2 separate regions of the Homo sapiens genome follow, and region 1 is linked to region 2. Evidence: promoter capture Hi-C in human tissues and cell types (Jung and others, 2019). All regions are on one chromosome and are shown on one strand. The core of a region is centred on a gene start or on the middle of the fragment in contact, and the rest is flanking DNA. Distances in the headings are between cores, read along the strand shown. Region 1 has its middle 4.1 kb from the start of CAMTA1-DT. Region 2 holds the start of ACOT7 (acyl-CoA thioesterase 7).

The links. Contacts are between HindIII fragments. The study calls those that stand out against the background at their distance.
Region 1: a fragment that was not itself captured here is called in contact with the fragment with the promoter of ACOT7 in region 2 in 1 of the 25 tissues and cell types used here (pancreas).

The regions. Positions count from the first base shown.
Region 1 is chr1:6,778,115-6,783,652 of GRCh38, reverse strand. No RefSeq gene overlaps it. Among named protein-coding and RNA genes, the nearest start is that of CAMTA1-DT, 4.1 kb to the left of the region's middle. The HindIII fragment of the contact is 3,443 bases long and covers 635-4,077 here.
Region 2 is chr1:6,392,045-6,397,668 of GRCh38, reverse strand. It overlaps ACOT7 (acyl-CoA thioesterase 7), which reads left to right and starts at 3,902. Exons shown (of 9, transcript NM_007274.4): 1 at 3,902-4,412. The coding sequence starts at 4,270. RefSeq lists enhancers at 1,741-2,265, 3,018-3,528, 3,529-4,041, 4,042-4,553 and silencers at 3,782-4,231, 4,502-4,591. The HindIII fragment of the contact is 35,573 bases long and covers 1-5,624 here.

The sequences.
Region 1 (5,538 bases), core at 1,107-3,606, 390 kb before region 2:
CTTTTGACCCAGTGATCTTACTTCTGGGAATCTGTTCTAAGGAAATAACACTAAATGCCAGAAAAGCTGTATGTGTGAAGGTATTCTTCACAGGATCACTGTACTTAACTACAACAAAAAATTGGGAGCATCCTACATGTGCTAATATTGGGTATTTAGTAAATTGTGTTACATCTACACAGTGGAACATTATGGTAGTTGTAGACATCAGAAACAGAAAATCACCCATTGCTAGATAGAGGGGGCAATACCCAAAATTATGGTGTTCATTTATGAGGTGAGATGATAGGCTAAAAAAACTGCATTTTAAAAAAGACCGATACAGGCCGGGTGCAGTGGTTCACGCCTGTCAATCCTAGCACTTTGGGAGGCCAAGGTGGGCAGATCACTTGAAGCCAGGAGTTCGAGACCAGCCTGGCCAGCATGACAAAACCCCGTCTCCACTAAAAATATAAAAATTAGGTGGGCAAGGTGGCAGGCGCCTGAGGTCTCAGCTACTTGGAAGGCTGAGGCAAGAGAATTGCTTGAACCCAGCGGGCAGAGGTTGCAGTGAGCCAATATCGCACCACTGCACTCCAGCTTGGGTGACAAGAGCAAGACTCCACCTCAAAAAAAAAAAAAATAGACTGATAACATACACCAAATAAATGACGTATGGGGGATTATAAGTGAGTTTTTTTTAATTGCCTATTTTCTATAATATAGCTGTTTTTGTTGTTGTTTTTTGGTTTTTTTTTTGTTTTGTTTTTTTGAGATGGAGTTTCACTCTTGTTGTCCAGGCTGGAGTTCAATGGCGCAATCTCGGCTCACCGCAACCTCTGCCTCCCGGGTTCAAGCGATTCTCCTGCCTCAACCTCCAGAGTAGCTGGGATTACAGGCATGCGCCACCATGCTCAGCTAATTTTGTATTTTTAATAGAGACAGGGTTTCTCCATGTTGGTCAGGGTGGTCTCAAACTCCCAACCTCCAGTGATGCGCCTGCCTCAGCCTCCCAAAGTGCTGGGATTACAGGCATGAGCCACCACGCCTGGCCTCTATGTTACTTTTATCATTAAAACACTCATTTAAATTGAAAGAAAGGTGAATAAAGTTGAGTGTCTTCCTTCAAGAGACTCCCAACTTGGCCAGGTTCACAAACATAAGCAGCAGCAGGACAGGTGCGATGGGAACACCGGAGAAGGTCACAAACATCACCTGGGCCTCAACACCATCACCATTGAAATTACCTTAGCCTCAGGCCACAACAGTGGTTCTCAAAACAGTGGTTCTCTAGGGACCTTGGTCGAGCAGAGGGAGCCCCAAGACTCAAGGGACCCAAAAGTCAAAACTTTTTTAGACAGGGTCCTGCTCTGTCGCCCAGGCTGGAGTGCAGTAGTGCCATCAAAGCTCACTGTAGCCTCGAACTCCTGGGCTGCAGTAATCCTCCCACCTCAGCCTCCCCGGTAGCTAGAACCACAAGCATGCACCACCATGCCCAGCTAATTTTTAAGTTTTGTAGAGACAGGGTCTCACCTTGTTGCCCAGGCTGGTCTCAAACTCCTGAGCTCGAGTGATCCTCCCACCTCAGCCTCTTGAAGTGCACGGATTACAGGCATAAGCCACCACACCTGACTTCAGAACTATTTTTATAGCAATGATATGTCAATTTCTCCCAACACTGCACTCTGTGTGCAGTGTTTTCCAGAGGCTGCAAGATACGTGATCTCACAACAGGCTGAATGCAGAAGATTCAGAAGCAGAGAAGAATCCAGCAGTCTTCTACTGTCAGATATTAAAGTGATTTGCAAAACTAAAACAATCTCACACTTACCACTAATTTTATTTTAGAAAATGTAGGTATTTCTCATAAAAATAGGATTTATGTTGACATGTAATGGGTTTATTCTCTTTTTTGTTGTTCTTTTGAGATAGGGTCTCACTCTGTTGCCCAGGCTGGAGTGCCGTGCAATCAAGGCTCACTGCAGCTTTAACCTCCTGGGCTCAAGCAATTAGCCTCTTGAGTAGCTAGGAATACAGGTGGGCGCCACCATGCCCACCTGTATTTTTTGTAGAGATGAGGTTTTGCCACGTTGTCCGTGATGGTCTCCAACGGAGTCTTACTCTGTTGCCCAGGCTGGAGTGCAGTGGCACGATCTCGGCTCACTGAAACCTCTGCCTCCCGGGTTCAAGCGATTCTCCTGCCTCACCTCTTGAGTATCTGGGATTACAGGCACCCGCCACCATACCTGGCTAATTTTTGTATTTTTAGTAGAGACGGGGTTTCACCATGTTGGTCAGGCTGGTCTCAAACTCCTGACCTCGTTATCCGCTGGCGTCAGCCTCCCAAAGTGCTGGGATTACAGGCGTGAGCCACCGCGCCCAGCTTGAATCCTTAAATTTTAAGTGTGGAAAAAGATCTTGAGACTCAAGAGTTTGGGAACCACTGGGCTAGAGAATGAGATCTTTTTGGGGCTGGCTGGTTGGTGTTTCTGTTTGCTTGGGAGGGTAACCAAGAGATGGGCATTTCAAGTAAAGGAAGCAGCTTGCATTACTAAATGAGCCCATTTAGAAAAGAGAGTTGGAAGATAACGCTCGATGTACCAATCTCGGAATCCTTGCCCATTTTGGCCCTAATGTCCTTCAAGGAAAGAATTTTACTGTCCAGAAACAGAACATATAAGGGAAATAGTGGGAATATTAAATTGTTACTTTTTGACCCCAAAGAGGTGCAAAAGAGGCTTCTTCCTGGTCAGCTTTCCAAAGTAAAGTGGCTGTTTATATTACTGGTGGTGATAAAAATAAAAGTGCTTGGACTTGCTTCCTTAAATTGGAAGTTACCGAAGCTTCCATATTACTGGATTGGGAGAGGAAAGCATGGAGTAAACCCATTTCAGAAGCTTAAACACTTAGAAGCTCAGGCCGGGCACAGTGGCTCACACGTGTAATCCCAGCACTTTGGGAAGCCAAGGCGGGTGGATCACGAGGTTAGGAGTTCAAGACCAGCCTGGCCAAGATGGTGAAACCCCATCTCTAACTAAAAATAAAAATTTAGCTGGGCATGGTGGCACGCGCCTGTAATCCCAGTTACCGGGGAGGCTGAGGCAGGAGAATTGCTTAAACCTGGGAGGAGGAAGTTGCAGTGAGCCAAGATTATGCCACTGCACTCCAGCCTGGAAGACAAAGCGAGACTCCGTCTCAAAAAAATAAAAGAGAAGCTCATCATCCCAAGCTTATTTTACCCCTGCACAGGGCAACAAAAAACCTGTGCCTCCTTTAGCCACCAAGGGGCTGCATGGTTAAAAGTAATAATATTCAAAAGTTCCATTTCCAAAAAGTTTCTCCCCTTGTCTTTAACTATTTTTTTAATTTTGAGATAATTAGATTCACATGCAGTGATAAGAAATCATACAGAGAGCTCCTATGTCCCCTTACCTTTTCAAGATGAAACAATGAAAACTTGTGGACTTTGTTGGAACCAACCCTTCACCAGATGGTCCCTGTTTTCCTATCCTGCAAATGGTCACCTTTCCTCTTCTCTGCATCCCAATTACGTCAGGCATTATAATCTCAGAATGTCTACTGTTAATATGCAAGAGTAAAGATTTGTTGGATACCCCAAATATAATGAGATATTTGGGCCTAGTAGGCCTGAATTTCAACTTACTTGAAATATCGGCCAGGTGAGATGGCTCATGCCTGTAATCCCAACGCTTTGGGAGGTCGAGCTGGGCAAATCACTTGAGGCCAGGAGTTTAAGACCAGCCTGGGTAACATGGCAAAACCCTATCTCTACTAAAAATATAACAGTTAGCAAGGCGTGGTGGCGCATGCCTGTAGTCCCAGCTACTCAGGAGGTTCAGGTACAAGAATCGCTTGAACCCAGGAGGCAGAGGTTGCAGTGAGCCAAGATCCAGCCACTGCACTCCAGCCTGGGTGACAGAGCAGACGTCTGTCTCAAAAAATAAAAATAAAAAAATATCATTTGAACACGAAAGGGAAAGGCTTTGTGGCCCAGGAATCTGTTGAAATTTTGAAATGAATCTGTAGTTTCATTTGTTCAGTATTTACTGACAGCAGTAGGTCTGAGAACCAACCACACCACGAATGACAGTTTTGTTTTCCTTTTAGCAATTAAAACCTAGAACAGACCATTATCTTTTTTCATTGGGGTTTCAGGAGATATTATTTAAGCAATAGTTATAATCATAATACTTGCCCTCATCATCCAGCTATTACATAAAACACGCCCAAGTGCACTTGCTCTCCAGAGACCCTCCTTGGAGTGATACCTAAATGCCTTCAGTGGAATGTATCTCACCTTCATACACTACTTTTAAGAATCAGTCCAGTTTTTTCTGGACTTTCCCTTTGAAACTGGAGGCTTTCCACTCCCTCTTGAGCCTTCTGGTATTACAGCCTGATAGTTTTTATTGCATTTGAACCCATGATCAAAGAAATGGTTCTTTTCTTTTTGTTTTGGTTTTTCTTTGGTGGAAGGGGACAGAGTTTCACTCTGTCACCCAGGCTGAAGTGCAGTGGCACGATCTCGGCTCACTGCAACCTCTGCCTCATGGGTTCAAGAGATTCTCCTGCCTCAGCCTACCGAGTAGCTGGGACTACAGGCGTGTGCCACCACGCCCAGCTAATTTTTGTATTTTTAGTAGAGACGGGGTTTCACCATGTTGGGCAGGATGGTCTCGATCTCTTGACCTTGTAATCCTCCCACCTCGGCCTCCCAAAGTGCTCACCCCTCACAGGTGTGAGCCACCACGCCCGGCAGAAATGGATCTTTTCTAAAGGGAGAAAAGGTTGGAGAGATTGGGCTTTGCTGGTTCAGATGGACAAATACAAAGAACTTCCTGACCACGGACATTAATGCATTTCGTAGACCAGGATCACCCCTCTACTTCCTGAGACCCAGAGAGACCTCAGTAGTGGAACCCCCCGAAATCTCTGTATAGAGAAAGCTTGGGGCAGTAATCTGATTGGAGGGAGGGGCCAGGGGACTCTAGCATCTGCACAGCAAACCCACTTGCACTCCATGCAGCTTAGGGAGATTGTAAGACTGCTCAAGTCAAGTTTTGTTTTTTTGTTTTCTTATTTACGCCACACTTTCAAATGTAGTTTCTTTTGACTCTCAGTCTTCCCAGGAAACTTTGTTTAGTTGTTGAAAGTAAAATGACCTATCAAAGTGCCTGACGGGAAACGCTGCTGAGTTGTCCCATCATAGTCTTTGGAAACCACTGAGGAGCACCCAAGGAAAACCAGACCGCTACCATCTACGGGTATAAATGAAAAGGGTGTGGGCGCAGAGGCATTTCACCATCATTAGGCTTTCCATTTTTCAAACTGGACAAGCAATTTATTTTTTCTTTAAGTATTAAGCTGTGGGATATTATGCAGCCATTTAAAAAATGGAGGTATGGCCAGGTGCGGTGGCTCACGCCTGTAATCCCAACACTTTGGGACGTCAAGCCGAGCAGATCACTGGAGGTCAGGAGTTTGAGACCAGCCTGGCCAACATGGCAAAACCCCGTTTGTACTAAAAATGCAAAAATT
Region 2 (5,624 bases), core at 2,653-5,152:
GGTTTTTGCTGAGGAATTGGGCGCCCCCATTGCCATCCTTAAAAACAGGGCAACATCATAAGTAGTAATCTGGAGCACTATTTTCTTTCTACAGTGCAGAATGGGTACATGATAATCTCTGGGCTGAGCTGTTATCTTTTCTGGGTCCCTCTACCACCTTCGGGGTAGTGATGTGAGCAGGAGGGACAGATGCTGTCTCAGGTGGAAGGGTAGCCACACCCTTTCCCAAAAGTATAGGAACTGTTCCAGATCACTTTTTGGCCTCACTCTGGAGGGCCCAGGCTATTTCATTCTAAACCACTTGGCCCATCCTTGTCTAAGATTCCCTCTGGTTCAGTGTGTGGCTGGAATCTGGCTTTTTGTGTCCCTGATTTGTGTCCCAAGCAGCATTTGAACTTTTTTTTTTTTTAAGAGACAGAGTCTATGTTGCCCAGGCTGGAGTGCAGTGGCTGTTTACAGGAGCCATCAGAGGGCACTGCAGCCTCAAACTCCTAGGTTCAGGGGATCCTCTTGCCTCAGCCTCCTGGGATTATGGGTGCAAGCCCCCATGCCAGGCAGATTTAGAAGATTTTGAACAATGAAGTGTCTGTAATGCTCAGAGGAGCAAGCACACCTATACAGGGAGCATGGGGTCTTAGTAAATTCTTGCTGCACTCATAGCTGGGGGAAGAGCAGTATAGAGAAACAGAAGGTTTGAGGAGGGAAGAGGAAGAAAGGCCCTACCTCAGCCTGCCAAGTAGTCCTCACAACGGTCAGGAAAGTATTTATCACCCCCATATCATAGGTAAAGAAACTGCCAGGCTGGGAACAGTGATGCACACCTGTAATCATAGCACTTTGAGAGGCTAAGGCAGGTGGATCACTTGAGCCCAGGAGTTCAAGACCAGCTTGGGCAATGTGGTGAGGCTCCTTCTATACAGAAAAGTACAAAAATTAGCTGAGCATGGTGGCACATGCCTGTGGCTCCAGCTACTCAGGAGGCTGAGGTGGGAGGGCTGCTTGAGCTCTGGAGGCAGAAGCTGCAGTGAGCAGGGATTGTGCCACTGTACTCCAGCCTGGGTGACAGAGCCAAGACTCTGTCTCAAAAGATTTAAAAAAAAAAAAAAAAAAAAAAAGGAAACTACCTTGCCTGAGGCTCTAAATCTAGTTACTGCTTCCAACCATTTCAGGATTCAATTGGGAAGAGGTGGTGTTTGAACAGGCTTGGGGGCCCTTGATGCTTGCATCAACTTAATTCTCACTAAAAAACAAAAGTCTGCGTCCGGACGAGGTGGCTCAGGCCTGTAATCCCAGCACTTTGGGAGGCTGGGGTGGGTGGATCACCTGAGGTCAGGAGTTCAAGACCAGCTTGGCCAACATGGTGAAACCCTATCTGTGAGAGGTGACAGCATGCTGGCAGTCCTCACAGCTCTCGCTCGCTCTCAGCGCCTCCTCTGCCTGGGCTCCCACTTTGGCGGCACTTGAGGAGCCCTTCAGCCTGCCGCTGCACTGTGGGAGCCCCTTTCTGGGCTGGCCAAGGCCGGACCCGGCTCCCTCAGCTTGCGGTGTGGTGTGGAGGGAGAGTCGTGGGCGGAACCGGAGCTGCGAGCGGTGCTTGCGGGCCAGGGCGAGTTCCAGGTGGGCGTGGGCTCGGCGGGCCTCGCACTCGGAGCCGCGGCCGTCCCCGCCGGCCCCGGGCAGTGAGGGGCTTAGCACCTGGGTCAGCAGCTGCTGTGCTCAATTTCTCGCAGGGCCTTAGCTGCCTTCCCCCGGGGCAGGGCTCGGGACCCGCAGCCCGCCATGCCTGAGCCTCCCCCCACTCCATGGGCTCCTGTGCGGCCCGAGCCTCCCCAATGAGCACCGCCCCCTGCTCCACGGCACCCAGTGCCATCGACCACCCAAGGGCTGAGGAGTGTGGGCACACAGTGCGGGACTAGCAGGCAGCTCCACCTGCAGCCCCAGTGCGGGACCCACTGGGTGAAGCCAGCTGGGCTCCTGAGTCTGGTGGGGACATGGAGAACCTTTATGTCTAGCTAAGGGATTGTAAATACACCAATCGGCACTCTGTATCTAGCTCAAGGTTTGTAAACACACCAATCAGCACCCTGTGTCTAGCTCAGGGTTTGTGAATGCACCAATCAACACTCTGTATCTAACTACGCTGGTGGGGACTTGGAGAACCTTTGTGTCGACACTCTATCTAGCTAATCTGGTGGGGACATGGAGAACCTTTGTGTCTAGCTCAGGGATTGTAAACACACCAATCAGCACCCTGTCAAAACAGACCACTCTGCTCTACCAATCAGCAGGATGTGGGTAGGGCTAGATGAGAGAATAAAAGCAGGCTGCCCGAGCCAGCAGTGGCAACCCACTCTGGTCCCCTTCCACGCTGTAGGAGTGTTGTTCTTTCGCTCTTTGGGTCCACACTGCCTTTATGAGCCGTTAACATTCACTGTGAAGGTCTGCAGCTTCACTCCTGAGCCAGGGAGACCACGAACCCACCAGAAGGAAGAAACTCCAGATGCGCCACCTTAAGAGCTGTAACACTCACCACGAGGGTCCGCGGCTTCATTCTTGAAGTCGGTGAGACCAAGAACCCACCAATTCTGGACACATCTGTACTAAAAATACAAAAATAAGCCAAACGTGGTGGTGCATGCCTATGGTCCCAGCTACTCAGTGTGGTTGAGGCAGGAGAATTGCTTGAAACTGGATGGCAGAGGTTACAGTGAGCTATCACACCACTGCATTCCAGCCTGGGCGACAGAACGAGACTCTATATCAAAAAAAGAAAACAGGCCAGGCGTGGTGGCTCACGCCTGTAATCCCACCACTTTGGGAGGCAGAGGCGGGCAGATCACAAGGTCAGGAGATCAAGACCATCCTGGCTAACACAGTGAAACCCCGTCTCTACTAAAAATACAAAAAATTAGCCGGGCGTGGTGGCAGGCGCCTGTAGTCCCAGCTACTTGGGAGGCTGAGGCAGGAGAATGGCGTGAACCTGGGAGGCGGAGCTTGCAGTGAGCTGAGATTGCACCACTGCACTCCAGCCTGGGCAACAGAGCAAGACTCCGTCTCAAAAAAAAAAAAAAAAAAAGAAAACAGAAAAACAAAATTCTTAGTATAAAAGTCTTGAAATCACAGAGTTCTGACTTTGACTGCCCCTGCTTCTGGGAGCTACAGATCATGCTGTGGGCTGCCTCCACGGTCTGGTAACTCAAGGGTGACCGGGGTGAGGCACAGTTCCTTCAGAGCTACCTAGCTGAGTGTAAATGGGTTGTTCAAATTGCACTAGGGAGCCGGAGTTGCGTGGGTTTTAATTTAAAGATGTAAGTACAAATCTATGTGCATTGTAGAAAATTCGGAAAAGGTCCAACTGCCTAGCAAGTAAAAAGCTGTCATTCCAGCACGTGGGGGGTGACCGCTTCTCCCTTCTTGGGTGTTTTTTGGTGGATTTTTTTTGGTGACCCCGACTGGCCTAGACTCCATTCAAGGGCACATCTTGTGCAGTAAAACACGCATGTTTCAGGGCTCCTCACTGCAACACGTGCACCTCCAGGCTGGCGCTCAGCGCTCCCAGTAAAAGCTGCAGGCGGCGGTGTAGATAGTCGCCGGCCTTTCCTCCTCCCCACCTCGTGACGCTTTGTGCTGCGGAAGCAAAGGCCCGTTCCATTCCCCGTGTCTTCCCAGCAGCCGCCACCAATGCTCCTTTCTAGGAAACAGCCTTCCATTCTCTCTTAGGGCCGATCTTAGCGAGAGCCGCGATGCGGGCGACTGGTGCCGGGGTGGGTTGGGGGCGGGGGTGGGAATCAGGCCCCACTGCCAGGAGCCCGGGCCGCGCCTTCCGCTCTGACCTCATCCGGCCGCCCAGGCACTGGGCGCGGCAGCGAATCGGCGGCGCGGGCGGCCGGGAACGCCCAGCACAAATATTTACCGCCGCGCGGAGAGTGAGGGCCCAAGTCCGCCCTGCTCCGCCACTTAGGCCGCCCCAGACGCTTCCCTCGGGGCTGCCACCGGGTCGGGCGCGGCTGCCGCGGCTAGCGGGCCTTCCCCGCACCGGCGCGGCCCAACCGCCACCGAACCTTCTGGAAGCGGCGGCTGCCTGGGCCCCCACGCCGCCAGAATCGTACGCCCGCGCGAGCTCTCTGCAGCCTTGGCGGCCTGGGAGGCGGGGCTCGGGGTGGGGCCGGCGCGGGGGCGGGGTCGGCGCGGGGAGGCCGCGTTCGATTGCCCCCGGCGCGCAGGCCCCGCCTCACCAGCCCCATCGCTCCACCTCTGCCCTCCCCCTTTATGGCGCGGCCCGGGCTCATTCATTCCGCGCCGGGCCTGCCAGACACCTGCGCCCTTCTGCAGCCGCCCGCCGCATCCGCCGCCGCAGCCCCCAGCATGTCGGGCCCAGACGTCGAGACGCCGTCCGCCATCCAGATCTGCCGGTAAGAGAGGGCCCGCGCGCAGCCTGCAGCGGCCAGGCGCGCCGGTCACCGCCCCAGGCCTGCCCCGCTTGGCTCTGTGGTCCCCACCCGCCGAGGCCGCCCCCGCCCGCCGATTCCCCGCACGGCCTTCCGCGCCGCCGCCCCGGACGCCCGCCCGGCCGGGATGCGACTCGCGATGCCGCACAAGCCGGGCGGCCCCCGCCCGCCTCCAGCCGGCTCCTCCTGGCCGCATCTCCAGGGCGGCGGCCGCGCCACGGGCCGTTTGGGCGAGAAAGCCAGGCAGGGACGGGGCGGGCGGAGGTCAATGCACAGCTCCAGAGCCCGGCGACCGGCGCCCGTGGGCCGCCCCGCCTCGGGCCTCGCCCGAGCATCCCGGAGCCTCAGCCCCGTGGTCCTGCTTAGCCTCCTCGAGGATTCGGGATCATTACCTCGGCGGTTGTGCTGCGCTAACCAAAGCCCCCAGAGGTGGAGGGGAGGTGCCCAGAGCCGCGCGAGCCCCTCGGTGGGTGCCCCTGTGGGAGGAGGTTGCAGAGCTACCGTCTTCAGTGCACTGCTTCGGTTTGGGGGAGGGCAGGTGTTGAAAGGAAGAACAGATAATACTGTCTACCTCTAACAGTTTACTATGAAGAAAAGGGAATCAGTGGTCTGTTGGGCCTGAAAGCATCTTACACAATAGAGGCAAAGGGTTGTCCTTCTAGAGCACCCCCTCTTCTTCCACCAGGTACTGAGTAGATAGATGCAGGCCCCCAGAGGAAGCTGGAGGCTGGAGATCATGAACAAGCTCATTTCCCATAGGAGGTGGGGAGGGCAGCCTGAAGGTTACTCTGCAGTTCTCTTCGGCAGAATCGGAAGCAGCAGGCTGGCATTTGTGCATGAGCTAAGTGAGGACAAGGAGTCTAGGTTTTCAGCCACTGCACACAGGCTCTGTGGCCTGCGACCGGTCCTATCCTGCTTGATGAACTACCAGGAGTGAGAGCTGCTTTCTGTTTTGGTAGTGGGTTCCTCACATTTGGGGGTTGGGCATCACAGACTGACCTTGGGCTCAAGCCAAGTCCAATAGAAGCAAGTTACTTTCCTGTAGATGTTGACATCTCCAGGAAGGCTGGGCATATAGCAAGTCCTGGGTCTATGGCGATTCTTGACTCTCAGTCTCATCTTCTGGCCTGGTCGAGGGCCTCTCCTTACCTCAAGGTCGGTTTTGACTTTTCCAGA